3 separate regions of the Homo sapiens genome follow, and all the other regions are linked to region 1. The links are contacts of gene promoters, found by promoter capture Hi-C in blood cells and fetal thymus (Javierre and others, 2016). All regions are on one chromosome and are shown on one strand. The core of a region is centred on a gene start or on the middle of the fragment in contact, and the rest is flanking DNA. Distances in the headings are between cores, read along the strand shown.

Region 1 (4,946 bases), core at 1,823-4,322:
ACCAGAAGAAAACATGTTAACCTGCTGCCTGGAGAAAGGGAGCCACATACATAAATACGTTAAGGACCTCGTGAGGGAGAGGACAGAAGCTGGCTAATTCACCTTCAGCATCCAGGGGAGTTTTGCAGGATGAGCCGAGGATTCGAGGATGGCCCCTCTCAATGCGGCGGATAGTTGCCCAGCATTGTGGGTGCTGACAAACAGCCAAGCCACAGGTGGTTTCGTCCCACTGGCTCTCATCTGGCAAGTCCATAGCTAGAAATGGTTTAGGCCAAAGGCCAACCCTGCAGCATTCTAGTGCTCTGGAAAATCAACAGCTACATAATTAGGGAGTATTATACATTAGCCATACAGTCCAGATGTTAATTTGAACTCACAGTATAAAATATTTCTATTGAACCTATATAGGTAAATGATGGCCACAAAATAATTAAAGATTGGATAACAAGCAAGTATGAAAATAGCTCAGCATAAAGTAGAATGGCAAGAGTTTGAGAGCAGGACTTCAGGTCTCCTAATTGGCTATTTAATAGCTGAGTGACCTGGGACTTAACCAGTCTGAGCCTGTTGCCTCCACTGTAAAATGAGGATAAGCTTATTTCACAGGGTCATTATAAAAATTAGTTAATGGATATTAAAAGCCTGGCATATTGTTCCAAATAAATATTTGCATCCTTTCCTTTTCCCCTTCGTTAGTCATCAGGGAGAAGATGCCACCATCTCCAAAAAGCATTATCAAATTATGACCAAAGTAGTCACAGAAGTGTCTTAGAAGGCCCAAACTTCTGGAAGACATGTTTCATTTTTCAATGTGCTTCAGTTCCCATGCAGGCAGATAAAATACCCACCAGCAATGAATGTGTTTGCTCAAATAGCAAATCACTAGACACTGCTAGTTGCATCAGAGGCCATTAGCTTTTCATTCATTGGCCATATGGCCTTTGACAAGGGTCTTCACACCTCTCTCTCAAGTAGGGGGAGGGGTCCTGACTTGGTGTCTCAGGTCTGTAACCACAGCACTTTGGTAGGCCAAGATGAGTTACCCCCTCTCCACAAAAAATAATAAATAACATAAGCAGAAGGCAGGGAATCCCTAAGTAGGACTGCAGAAGCATTAAATGAGATAATGTACTTTTATTCATGGGAGGTGTTCAATAAATATTATCATCTTTTCCTTTCTAGAGGTGTTTTAGGCAATCACTAACTACCACCTTATTCCTAAGAACTTTTTAAGGACAGTGTCCATTTCTTTCTTTTATTCAACACATTTATTGATTACTAAATATGTGAGGGGACCTGCTTTGGACATGAACAGTAATAAACAAACTCCCTGTTCTAAACAGTTTCATAATTTAGATCAAAGATAAACTATCAGCCTGGGATTGCACCTGGCCTATTACTTGTTTTGTTTGGCTAGCACTTTGAATCAATTTTAAATTTGAATCAATTTTAAAATTGAAATAGCCCACAATGTCCTTTTAGGGACCAAAATACTTGACAACACTGAGCCCAATTCCAGTTGAAGAGCAACTGACTAGCGCTGAGCAGCCCTGATGGTTTCAGCCAGGTCTGTTCTATCCAAGCGGAGTTCCCCCACCAGACCTTATGGTCTCTAATTGAAACACTTTCAGTTGCCATTTATCATAGCATTTGCTCTTTTGTTTTAAAATATTTCTCTATAATCAGGCTTCTATCGAAAGCAGGAAAACTACAGGGCGACTTGGGACTGCATGCTTGACGGGAAAAAAAAGCAGCATTAATTCTCAGTGGGAGGCTGGGCGCCGTGGCTCATGCCTGTAATCTCAGCACTTTGCAAGGCCGAGGGAGAATCACTTGAGCCCTGGAGTTCGAGACCAGCCTGGGCAACATGGTGAAACCCTGTCTCTACGAAAAATACAAAAAATTAGCTGGGTGTGATGGAACGCACCTGTAGCCCCAGCTATTTGGGGCTGAGGTGGGAGGACCACCTGAGCCAGGGAGGTCGAGGCTACAGTGAGCCGAGACCGTGCCGCTGCACTCCAGCCTGGGGGACGGAGTGAGACCCTGTCAAGAAATTTTAAAAATTAAAAAATAAATAAAATCAGTGGGAGTGAGAATTTCTACGAACTTAATATAAAAATAACTTAAAAACAACTTAAAACACCATTGCGCCGGGCGCGGTGACTGGCGCCTGTAATCCCTGCACTTTGGGAGACCGAGGCGGGCGGATCACGAGGTCAGGAGATCGAGACCATCTTGGCTAACACGGTGAAACCCTGTCTCTACTAAAAATACAAAAAAATTAGCCGGGCGTGGTGGCGGGCGTCTGTAGTCCCAGCTACTAAGGAGGCTGAGGTAGGAGAATGGCGTGAACCCGGGAGGCGGAGCTTGCAGTGAGCCGAAATCGGCGCCACTGCACTCCAACCTGGGCGACAGAGTGAGACTGTCTCAAAAAAAAAAAAAAAGAAACGCCATTGCAAAACCTTGAGAATGGTTTTAACTGGAAAAAATGTATGATGAACAATTTAACTGAAAAATAAATACAATTTTAACACGGTTTGTTTTTGAAAGCGAATGTGACGTTGCATTCTTCATACAGTGAAAAGGCTGCTTCTCGCCCTTTCGTTACCTGCCCAGTCCGAATTGACTCCTGAGACCTAATCAGGCGCATCTCTATATGGCCAGCATTATCCCTGGGCTGCCTAAATAGTTCGCGTTAAACACAAACAACAACAATAAAATCTAAATAACACTCAGTCTTAGTACCATTATTACAAAAGCGTGAGGGGCGAAAAGATTAAAAATGAACATCAACTTCGGTAGAGATGGAAAAAGACTGCCCACTCCATTCCAGGAAAGAAAAAAGAAAGTGGGAGAATCTGATCACGACGGGCTGAGGTCCTGTGAGAGCAAAGCAGATTCCAAACCGCTTAGGGTTGCTAAATCAAGTGGTAAAACGTGGCCCCTTGCGGCGCGGTGAGATTAACGGACCCGGCGGGCCCAGAGCCTGCCTCGGGTCCTAAAGGGATCCGCCCCGCCGAGTCAGCCACGCCTTCGTCTCCCACGCGCTGCGCCCGGCCGCGCCGTCACCCAGCAGCGGCGCAGGGCACCATGGGAAACGGACGGAAGCTCCATTGAGCCAAATAAGTTGGTGAGAAGGTTCCCGACGCGGCGATGGCGAGAAGCAGAGAAATGGACCTGGGGAGGGGCGTGCGGGGTGCGGTAGGGTTGGATGGAAGCCTTGGCGGGCCAAAACCACTGCGGCTTCAAAATCCGGATGCGCCGGTATTTGAGGCGGAGGCGGGGCTGTGGGGGGAGGAGGGAGGCTATGGCGCTCAGAGCACTGTGGGACACTGTAGGCCACGTGGGGCGGAACGGAAACCTCGCAGGGTCAGACCGTAGCGACGCGGGAAGTCCGGACGCAGTAGCTCCCTGAAGCGGAGGCGAAGGGGAGTTTAAGCCCCAGCGGCGGCAATGGCGGAGAGGCCCGAGGACCTAAACCTGCCCAATGCCGTGATCACCAGGATCATCAAGGAGGCGGTGAGCAGCTCGGGGGGGGCGGACGAACGGGCAGGAGGGAAGCAGGTGCTGGAACGGCAGCTTTGCTCACCCCCGGTCTCCTCGCAGCTCCCGGACGGTGTCAACATCTCCAAGGAGGCCCGGAGCGCCATCTCCCGCGCCGCCAGCGTCTTCGTGCTGTACGCCACATCCTGGTGAGCGGGACAGAGGCATAAGGGAGGCGCGGGGATACCTGGCTGGGAGTTGCTGGCTGGGAGCCTACAAACCCCAACGATTGTGTTCTCCCTCGGTGGGGACATGTTCACAGTCCTCTGCCAGTTTTTACAAGTTCTGAAGCAAAATAACACAACAAAATCACTTTGCTTTAGCTTTTTTGTGCAGAGAAGGGAAGGACTTATCCCTGTCACACCAAAATCCATACATGTAAGAGGCAGGCTTTCCCGTTCCACCTCTGGGTGCTCCTTTTCCCACTCACGCCTTACAAACAAGAGGGAGTCTGACAGCCTTTCTCTTCTCTCAGTGCTAACAACTTTGCAATGAAAGGAAAGCGGAAGACGCTGAATGCCAGTGATGTGCTCTCAGCCATGGAAGAGATGGAGTTCCAGCGGTTCGTTACCCCATTGAAAGAAGCTCTGGAAGGTAACGAGCCTCTTGTCTTCTAAACCACATAGAAGATGGTCATCCTGTGTGACCTGTTCACCAGGCCCTGAGCCTTCTCAGCGCGGGTCCCTTTAAGTCCAGTAAGCCAGCACTTGATGTGACTCGACCCAGTTCGGTGGGCACCACCTCAGATCTGTTTTGTAATGCTGAGCAAGTTATTTTTCCTTCTCTGCCTCCGTTTTTGTTTTTGTCTTGCTTTTCTTGTTTTTGTTTTTTTTTTTTTTTTTTTGAGACGGAGTCTTGCTCTGTCACCCAAGCTGGAGTGCAGTGATGGGATCTCAGCTCACCGCAGTCTCCTCCTCCTGGGTTCAAGCAATTCTCCTGCCTCAGCCTCCCGAGTAGCTGGGACTACAGGCGCACGCCACCACGTGCGGCTCATTTTTTATTTTTGTAGAGACGGGGTTTCACCATATTGGCCAGGCTGGTCTTGAACTCCTGACCTCAGGTGATCCGCCCGTCTCAGCCTCCCAAAGTGCTGGGATTACAGGCGTGAGCCACCGCGCCCATCTGCCTCCGTTTTTCCAATTGTACAATGTAATTAGCTCCTGCAGTCCGTCTGGCTCACTTTCAGCTCTGTCTCCTAACCCCTTGTTCCGTCCTTACAGCATATAGGCGGGAGCAGAAAGGCAAGAAGGAGGCCTCAGAGCAAAAGAAGAAGGACAAAGACAAAAAAACAGACTCGGAAGAGCAAGACAAGAGCAGGGATGAGGACAATGATGAAGACGAAGAAAGGCTGGAAGAAGAAGAACAGAATGAAGAGGAAGAAGTAGACAACTGAAAAGGGCGGG
Region 2 (4,946 bases), core at 942-3,441, 220 kb before region 1:
TCAGTAGAGACAGGCTTTTAGTGTGTTAGCCCAGATGGTCTCGATCTCCTGACCTCATGATCCGCCCACCTCGACCTCCCAAAGTGCTGGGATTACAGGAGTAAGCCACCGTGCCCGGCCAGCTTCTGATTCTTTATCTGTACGATGAGGAGTCAAATATTTGCCTTGTGGACTTGGTGTGAGCATTAGATGAGAAAGCATACTTGAAACCCAAATGTCAGCTGCCACCTCCCTGCCCCCAGAGACAATGGAGCATAGGGACCATTGTCTATGATCAATATCAACTAATATCAACTGAGAAGCAAGTCAGGGGCTGGGCTCAGTGCCCTTTCAGGATCCTGCTATTTCATCTTCTCAACGAAATCTAAGGAAGCACTAATGTTACCCCCATTTCACAGATGAGGAAGCCGACTCACTTAGAGAAGTGTGTGTGACTCGCCAAGGTCACATGGGTAGAAAGGGCAGGGCTGAGATTTGGGCCCAGGTACCCTGAACTGGGAACCTGCTTGTTTAACCACTGTAACTCACTCCAGGCCCATGGAAGTTGAAAGCCCTCCCCGAGATTTTTGTCATGAGGGCTCTTGCCTTCTCGTGGTCTCTCTGCTCCTCGCGACTGCCGCCTCTGAGTCAGACCAGCTGTGGCTCATCTGAGTGGCCCTTTCATCACCATCTCAGCGGCCCTTTCATCACCATCTCAGCTCCTCAGTATGTCTCCTAAGATAAACCATTCAGCCCCTTCCTCAATTACCAGGAAAAACCCATATTCCCAAGAAACATGTGGGTGGCTGTAGACCTAACTGATGATGGAATGTGGAGGCATGTTTACACTGCGGTACACGCTTCGCACTGAACATTTGACATCCCTGGTTTTCAGTATCTTTTTCTGCCCAACTCCGCACCTCCAAGAACCTTCCTCTGCCCACTTTGCCTCCTAGGGCCCCCACCTTCCAGGGGCCCAGTGTTCCACCCATGCCTTCTCCTCTCTCCTCTCCTCCCACGCCTCCTCCCCCTGCACCCATTCAGTCTTGCTCTCTCCGTCTGTTAAGACTAGGAATTCCAATCCCTCCAACCCTTAATCCCAAACCTTCCCACAGTCACACCTATCAAGGGGCCTTCCAGTTAGCCAGACCCACCCTGTTATGGGACAGTCTTTGAGGGACTTCTTCATTCCTTGGCTCTGTGCCTGTTGACTCAAGTGATGATAGTTATATTAGCATAGAAAAATTCTTCCTCAGATTAAGTAGCAATGAGCTCCTTTCCGATAACAATCTTAAAATATCAAAAACCACAGACCTGGGAAATGATCCTGCCCAGAATTTCTCAATGAGACACAAATGGCCTTCACGACGTGAGACTATCCCGTGCACTGCAGGACACTTAGAATCCCTGGCTTCTCGGCACTAATGCCAACAGCACCCTGCCTTCATCCTTGTGACAACCAAAAATGCCTCCCCATTTCCAAATTTCCCCATCTGTCACACAGGCACACTCATGCATAGCCCATGAACACACACACACACAGTGCATGGAGAACTAATCATGTCTTTGTACACACGGGCTCATGAGACCCAGAGAGGCAAAGGTCTCTGCCTGAGATCACATAGCAAGTGAGGTTGGAACACAGGACCAGCAGACTGGGGGAGAGCCTCTCTCCCAATATGCAGGCTGAGGCTGCCCTGCCACTAGGCTGGGAGCCAGAAGACAAGGGCCCTGTATTGCACCCCACTCCAGATTTTTGCAAACCCAATTCCCTGGACCCCTTCATAAGGACCAGCAGGATGCCAGACAGACACCAGCAGAGAAAACCTCAGCCTCTCATATTTTGAGGACTCGGCAGATTCTGCCTGGTTCCCAGTAAACCAGAAACATGGTCGTGAAGTGAGGTTAACGCGGAGTGCTGCCCGAGAAGGCTGAGCCAGCCAGCCCTCTCTGGGGAGGCAGAAATCCTTCCCGGAGCCTGAGACCCCTCCAGCCTGGCTGTGGGGAGTCAGCTGCTGTCAGCTGCCCAGAGATGAAGGTCAGGGGACAGGAGAGGGGATTTCCAGAACCCAAAAGCCAAGTGTGCCAGCAAGTCTATGCCTTCCAGATGTGAGGACATACGAGGCCAAACACAGCTCCAGTCTCATCCAGAGACACAGTGCCAGGAGACGGGGAGGCAGGCTCAAAGAGGAAGATGTGATCCTTGACTGCACCCCCTACAGTGCGCAGAGCACCCCCATTCACCTCTGTGAATCCTTATAGTGACCCTGCAAGGTAACCATAGCATCCCCATTTCACAGATGAGGAGATAGAGGCTCAAAAAGGCAAACTTGCCACCTACTAGCTGTGTGACCAAGAACATGCAATGTAACCACCCTGGGCTTCAGTTTCTCCTTCTGGATCATCTGGAGGGTATGGCCTGCCTTTAGGATGTTTTTGAGGCTAAACGAGGCAAACCTTTGTTATAGTAGCCCAATGCCTAGCTAGCAACAGGTGCAGAAATAATGCTATTGGAACCAGCAGGTTGAACAAGCCAGACTGGTAATGTAATCAAAAGCACAACTTTATTTTTGTGTTCCATTATCTCTTTAAAATGTAGTCAGTGGGACAACTCCAGGAAGGGTTGGGGGGGGCGACTTTTTTGCTGTCTTAGTAATGACAATTCCTTTAAATTGCAAACACAGTCCAAGGCAATCATGTCTATTTCTAGACCAGTGCAGAATTTTCTGGTCTAGAAATAGACAGAATGTCAGTTTCTTCTCACCTCCAATCCCATTCTCCAGGCTGCAGTTTCAACCTAGCGAAGGTTTGAGTAGTAAGGAAGAAAGAGGGTTAAAGCGAGTGCACAGAAGAGTTCTTTCTCAGGTCATTTTAAAATTGAGACAAACATGACATTTCTTACGTGTCTCAGTTTGTGGTTGCATCTGTATCTGCTACGCACACACACACACACACACACACACACATATTCTAATACTGTTACTTTTTAGGAATTCTCGTATGTATAGAGTATGGTAGATATTGCAGCTAAGTTATGTAACCTTGTGGTTTCCCTTTAATAAACCATGAACACCGTCTTCTCTCATTGCACATACTTTTAATTTATTTTTTGAGATACAATTCACATAACGTAAAACTCACTACTTTAAAGTGTACAATTCAGGCCTGGCACGGTGGCTCACGCCTGTAATTCCAGCACTTTGGGAGGCCACAGCGGGTGGATCACCTGAGGTCAGGAGTTCGAGACCAGCCTGGCCAACATGGTGAAACCTCGTCTGTACTAAAAATATAAAAATTAGCCATTAGCTAGGCATGATGGTGGGCGCCTGTAATCCCAGCTACTCAGGAGACTGAGGCAGAAAGAATCACTTGAATCCAGGAGGCAGAGGTTGCAGTGAACCAAGATGGTGCCACTGCACTCCAGTCTGGGCAACAGAGTGAGATTCTGTCACAATAAATAAATAAATAAATTGTACAATTCAGTGGCTTTTAGTATACTATGTTGTACAACTATCACCACTACCTAATTCTAGAACATTTCTATCATCCCCAAAAGAAATCTTATACCTATTAACAGGTCGGTGCAAAAGTAATTGCAGTTTTTGACGTTTTTTATTTTAAGTGGCCAAAACCGCAATTACTTCTGCACTGACCTAATACTAGCCAATCCCCAACTCCCCTTCCCCTCATTTCCTGGCAACGAATCTGCTTTCTATCTGTCTGCATTTGGCACCTGGATAGGTTATATAATTGGAATTCTACAACATTTGACTATTTGTAACTGGCTTCTTTCATTTGGCATAATACTTTCAAGGTTAAACATTTCAAGTTGTAGCATAAATCAGTACTTCATTCTTTTTTATGGCTAAATAATACTCCACTGTTTAGACAGATCACATTTTGTGTATCCCTTTAGCAGTTGATCAACATTTGAGTTTTTTCTACTCTTTGAAAATTATTAATCATGTGCTGTGAGCATTCATTTACAGGTTTTTGCGTGAATATATTTCCACTTCTCTTGGATCTATACCTCGGAGTGAAATTTCTGAGTCCTGTGGTCAATATTTTTTATTTTTTTCTCTTTTTGAGACGGAGTCCGGCTCTGTTGCACAGGCTGGAGTGCAGTGGCGCTATCTTGGCTCATTGCAACCTCTGCCTCCCGGGTTCAAGCAATTCTCCTGCCTCAGCCTCCTGAGTAGCTGGGATTATGGGCACGTGCCAACACACCTGGCTAATTTTTGTATTTTTAGTAGAGATGGGGTTTCACCATCTTGGTCAGGCTGGTCTTGAACTCCTGACCTCAGGTGATCCACCTGCCTCATAACTCCCAAAGTGCTGGGATTACAAACATGAGCCACCGTGCCCGGCCCCTATGGTAAATCTATGTTTAGTTTTTTGAGGAACTGCCAGATTCCACATCCACTTCCAATTTCTCCACATCCTCACCAAAAACAGTTATTTTCCCTTTTTTAAAAGTTACAGCCATCCTAGTGAGTGTAAAGTGGCAATTCATCATGGTTTTGATTTGCATTTGCCTAACGACTAATGCTGTTGGTCATGGATATGCTTTTAAATTATGATTTTAATTGCCATGCAAATTCCATTGTAGGTTACTATATTTTTAATTGGCTATTATTGAATATTCAAGTTGTTTCTATTTTTTCAAATTCACTCATACATATAAGCCTTTGTGAATCATAATCATCTCTGATTCAATGACATTCATCCATTCACTCACTTATTCAATAGCTATCTACCAAGCCAGGCCTGTTCTAGGTGTTATTGCACAGTACTGAGCAAGACAAAACAGATCTGATCTCTGCCCGCCTACAGCAGACGGTCCAGTGATTTATTAAATGTTTGTGCAAATAAGTCGATCAGCAGGCTGACAAGTATCAGTAAAGAAACACACAGGGCACATATGTAAGAGGAGCGCATCATTCAGAGTGGGTGGCCAGGAAAAGCCA
Region 3 (4,946 bases), core at 1,281-3,780, 130 kb before region 1:
ATAGAGGGTAAGGTTGCACTGTCTTCTTCAGGGGCTAAAAAAAACAATAGCAAGATGGCTGAGACCAAGAGCAAGACAGCGAAGAAGGCAGTCTGTCCACTGATAGGACAGCAGCAAGGAATGGGGAGGAGAGCTGGTGGCTGCCTGGAAACAGTTTTTAGGGAGAAGAGTCTGCATCTCTTAGGGGAGATGGCTGAAATCAGATCCATTTGATTCCCCTTTATTCAGGGCTGAGATACTAAATCAGTCAATTAGCAAAATCTGCGCACAAAACCTGGCAGGTTCCACATGGGCAGGCCCTCTCTGTGCCCTCAGCTGGTCTCAGGTCAAAGGCCTCCTTCCAGTACTTACGCTGGGCACAAGCCAGCCTGAGCCTGAAGCTATACCTCTCTGCCTTTGGCTAATATTCCATCACTGCCAAGCACTCCATGACTCTGTCTGCTGATCCTTTTGATGCCAAATTCAAAAGGGGAAGGGGTGTAACCTAACCATTCCAGAGCTCCCTGAGAACCTGTCTTAAGGAGCTCAAACTGATCTCTCATTTTAGGCTTTTTTCAAATCTTGTGGGAAGCTATTGATCTTTTCAGCCTGTGCCACCCTCAGGAAAATGCATTCTGGAAGTTTATTCTCCACTGGGTGGAAAATAAGGCATCTCATTTTATTTATCCTAAAAGCATTCCCTCTACAGCTTGATGGGCCACAGCTTCTGACATGCCGGATATCCCTCTCTTGCCTCTTCCTGGAGATTATTGATTTCTCTTACTTCTATCCCTAAAAGACAAACCTTTTTATCAGAAATGAGTGGTAGATTAGGTTCAAAGGCCTTGGCTTGAGGGCAAGCTTGGCCCTTACCAGCTGTGTGACCTAGGATAAAACACTTAACTTCTCAGAGCCTTGGTGTCTTTCATCCATAAAACAAGGCTGCTGGGAGGCTGGGGGGAGATCATGCCTGGGGACCCCAGTTGCCATCTCCAAAGTTTAGGCTCTCACTGTGGGACTTTCGCTGTGGGGAGCCCTTCCACGTTGCAAAATTGCCTGCATTTTCACTTTGCAAAAACCCTCTTGGTGCCTTGGTGCCATGTGTGACAAATGAGGACTTTGGTAATAGAATTTATGGGGAAAAATAAAGAATAAAAATATAAGACATATATAAATAAATGTCATTATTTCCAAAAGGTCTGCAATGTCCCAACCCCCAAATAGCCAAAAGACCCAGGCCAGCAGAGATCCAGGCCTGATGGCTTACAGGATAGATGAAGAGTTTTAAAAGAACCAGAGCCTGAGACATAAAAAGAAAAAAAAAAAAAAAACATGAAAATGGGATCAGAGGGTCGGGGGTGTGTGGGGAACTAAAAGAATCACTTTGTATTCAAGTTGCACAGATGGTCTTTCCAACAATAAATGGTTGTGCTCCCATCTTCCCAGCTCCTGGGCCTGAGACACCAAACCAAGACAATTAGCCCATCAGGAAAGAGGCCATTGTGTGCTTCTTAGCATGATTTATGTAGCAGGGAGGGGCTCGGCAATGCTTCCCGTGATTATAGCTCTCAAGTGCAATTTCCATAGCTTGTTCATCATCCTGGACAGCTAGGATGGACTGGGATGCTGGACAGCAGTGGCCATCAGGTCATGTTTCATCTTCTCGAGCCTGTGGAGCCAAATTAATTGTTCGATCGATTTGAGAGGCAGAGCAGCAATGGTGCTGTGGCTCACCACAGTCACTGCCCAGGGCCCACCAGGAACTGATGTCCACTTCCCTAACAGCCGGACCTGGGACCCTGATGTGAGCATCTGCTCGACTCAGCAGCTTGTCAGGACAGGCTGGGTGAAAAGTCCTGTCCCCAGGGCTGTGTGCTGCATTCAGACTGTCCATTTCTTTGTGGCCAGAGCTCCTGTCCTCTGCACCTGTCTGGTAGACAGAGGTAGGTCACCAGGTCCAGGAGAGATGAGCTTGCTGCCTTCCCAGACAGGCGAGTCTCCTGTGCCTCACATTCCCCTTAATGTCATTTTGTAAGGGAATCAAATGAAATCAAAGTGCAGCTTGCTGTCTGTGCAGACCCAGCTGCTCAGCCTCTCACAAATCCCCCCCGCGGGCTGAGCCCTGGCAGACAGAGATGCTGTGTATCACTGGTCCCACTTCAGGCAGCGTTTACTCCCTTGCTGGGTGGGGGGCATTGGTCTGGTCACGGGCAGATCCAGCCCATCCCCTGTTAGACTGTTGAGTCAATATGTCTGATCTTTCCTAGGTTGAGAGGAGGATAAGTGGGAAGTAAGGGGTGTATTCTCTTCTAGGCCACCATTTTTGGGGTTCAAGTGGCCATAGCAGCTGAGCAAGCTCACAGGGGCACAAGAACCTTTCTCTAAAGATGCCGAGGTCTTACACAACACAAAGAATGTCCAAGGTCAGGGAACCTCTCTGGCCTCAGCCAGCCCTCAGCCTCTCTGACCCTCTTTTCCTATGCAAGTGACTCTAATCCTCTTGATACCCTTTTGCCCATGAGCCGTGTCCCTCAGACCTGCAGCCTTGGGCTTCCCTCCCTCTAGGTCTGGCAGTTAGATAAGAGTATGAGAGCTGCCCAACCCTGGGCTCCAGCTGGAGGTGCAGCAGGCAGTGAGTGGGCTGGGCTCAAACGGCTGTCCCCTTGGTTGGTCTTCCTTCAGCCCTGCGGCAGCACAGTCTCCACTAGAGCTGCTAGGCCACCCCCAGCCCAGTCCCTGGCCCTCGGAAGCCCCATGGAAAGCATGCGAAGTCAGTTTCCAGGGCACTGTGTGGCAGCTTCCTATCACAATGCTCAGCATGGGACAGAAAGACAGCACAGCAGCCCCTGCTAAGGCCTGGGCAGCAGTGAACTCTCCCACCTGGGCCAGGCTGAGCACTCACTGCCCCCAACTTCCAGGAACACTCCTAGAACTCAGCACTGCCCCCACTATCCCCCACGAGGCCTGGCCAAAAGGTGGCTCTGTGGGGAAGGTCCTAATCCTCACTCACATCCACTGAGAGAGGGGCCATTGAGGAGGAGGGTAGGCAGGGGGATGGGGCAGGGAGTCATCTCTTCTCCAGAGCCTGGCATTCAGGCATCCACTTCCCCAGCCACCATCCAGGACAAGCCACCAGGACAGTCCTCACCTAGAGAACTGAACGAGCCCCCTAACTGATCTCACACCCACTTGGGCCCCTCCTATGTGTAAACGGATCTTGTAAAAATGTACTTGCAACTCCCTTCCTCAAAAGCCTTCAATGGCTCTCCAGTGTATCTAGAATGAAATCAACAAGACATCAACTACCTCACCCACTGTGTCTTGCACCTCACTAAGCTCCAGCCACACTGGCCTGCTCGCCATTCCTCCAGCCCACTGAGCTCCTTCCCATCTCAGGGACTCTCCACGTGCTATTCCATCCACCGCGAACACTCTTCCCCAAGTCCAGGACTGGCTCCTTCCTCTCCAGCCCACAAGTCTCGGTTTAAAAGTTATGTCCTTCCCCATCCCCACCCCCACACACAGCACTCTAAGTACAATTCCCTCTTAAAGAAATCTGTGTTTTTTCTTTCATAGATGATCACAGCTTGCCATCACGTGTGTGCACGTGTGTGTGTTGGTATTGACTTATTTAACGCTCACTCCCAGCTAGACTGAAATCTTGATGAGAGCGAGACCATATCCGACTTTTTCTCCACAGTATCCCCAGCTCCTAGCATAGAGCCTGGCATAAAGTAGATGCACCCGAAATATCCATCGAATGAATGAGCCAATGTGTACAGGTGGAAAATGAGTGGATGGGCGGAGATGTCCTCTGGCAGCAGCAGATCATGGCATTGTTCTTCATCAGGGTGACCTCTCCCAACCTCTCCTGCTGCCCCCAAGGCAGGTCCGGGAGCCACCACTGGAAGCCCAGATGTGGAATGTCCTCCTCCTCCTCCTCCTTGGAAGGAAGAAGCCTCTGAGTCCTCTCCTCTTGGGACTTTCTGCTGCCAGTCTCTGCATGCCCACAAGGCCTCTCACACCATTGTGGTCCTTCTGTTGACATCCACATGCACCCTTGGGACCACTCCCTTCAGATGACCCTAGACCCACCATCTTGGTCCTCTGTTTCAGGTCCAGTTGAGGTGAGGTTACTGTGTGGTAGGGGATGCCCAAGAAAGGGTTAAGTTGCCAGAAGCAGAGTCCCGCCCTTGGGTTTGCTCAGCCAATCAGAGTCTGTCCTGGTGAGGTAAAGCTTCTATCCTGGGTGGCATTGGTTGAGTTGACCGGCCCCATCTCCTGCTGGAGAGAGCCGAAAGGGTGGAGTTTCTGTGGAACCAGACAGAACTGGAATTAGCTCGCTGTCTACTCAGGCCGGGCTGCCTGACTGCAGGACCTGCCTCTGTTCCTTTCTAAGGCACTCACACACCCTGGCATCTCCAGGGCTGTCTCTAGTGGCCCCAGTGGAGATGACAAGGTGGCACGCACCTCACCGTCACATCTGGGAGAAGTCTTAGAGCCAGAGCAGACAAGGAGGCCTCAGTTTCCCTGCCTGGGCCCCTGGAATATGGCAGATGTCTACCAGGAAGTGACATGGAGCAGTTGTCATATGTGCTCCGAGCACCAGCAGCAGCTTCAATGAACAAGGCCCCCGATGAATCTTCCCATATGGACAGCACTTTAAAACCATGACAGTGAGAACGATAGCGGCTAGTTCAGAGCTCCTCTTGCATGCCACTTTGCAAAGCACATCCTGAGTTCAATCCTCACAAGAAGCCTCTTAATCCATCCACTTTACTGATGCAAAAACTGAGTCTCAGAGAGGCTAACTGGCTCACCTGAGGTCACATTGCTTACTGTGTTACTTTGAACTATCTGTCATGTCTGTCTCTGCCACCAGACTGTGATCTCCCGAGGAAAGGGGGTGATGGATTGCTCTGTGCGTCCCTCCCCGTGGAGCACAGGACCTGCCCTGAGAATGGGGC

The links. Contacts are between HindIII fragments. The CHiCAGO score rates a contact against its expected background, and 5 or more counts as called.
Region 2: a fragment that was not itself captured here is called in contact with the fragment with the promoter of POLE3 in region 1 in 5 of 17 cell types (naive B cells, naive CD4 T cells, megakaryocytes and 2 more); the score reaches 7.6 in naive B cells.
Region 3: a fragment that was not itself captured here is called in contact with the fragment with the promoter of POLE3 in region 1 in 1 of 17 cell types (erythroblasts); the score reaches 5.9 in erythroblasts.

Annotation. Positions count from the first base shown.
Region 1 is chr9:113,408,801-113,413,746 of GRCh38, reverse strand. It overlaps POLE3 (DNA polymerase epsilon 3, accessory subunit), which reads left to right and starts at 3,072. Exons shown (of 5, transcript NM_017443.5): 1 at 3,072-3,130; 2 at 3,339-3,519; 3 at 3,607-3,692; 4 at 4,019-4,137; 5 at 4,764-4,946. The coding sequence starts at 3,454. The coding sequence ends at 4,936. C9orf43 (chromosome 9 open reading frame 43) reads right to left here and starts at 3,000. Exons shown (of 14, transcript NM_001278629.2): 1 at 2,746-3,000; 2 at 103-302. The coding sequence starts at 253. RefSeq lists enhancers at 1,473-2,372, 2,991-3,180, 3,421-3,700, 3,273-4,172, 3,075-4,274. The HindIII fragment of the contact is 4,412 bases long and covers 597-4,946 here.
Region 2 is chr9:113,628,636-113,633,581 of GRCh38, reverse strand. It overlaps LOC105376222 (a long non-coding RNA gene), which reads right to left. Exons shown (of 4, transcript XR_007061739.1): 4 at 4,791-4,946. Among named protein-coding and RNA genes, the nearest start is that of RGS3, 170 kb to the right of the region's middle. RefSeq lists an enhancer at 1,344-1,907. The HindIII fragment of the contact is 7,179 bases long and covers 1-4,946 here.
Region 3 is chr9:113,540,664-113,545,609 of GRCh38, reverse strand. All of the region lies in intron 17 of RGS3 (regulator of G protein signaling 3), which reads right to left. Among named protein-coding and RNA genes, the nearest start is that of RGS3, 79 kb to the right of the region's middle. RefSeq lists enhancers at 2,238-2,753, 2,754-3,269, 3,994-4,493. The HindIII fragment of the contact is 3,376 bases long and covers 843-4,218 here.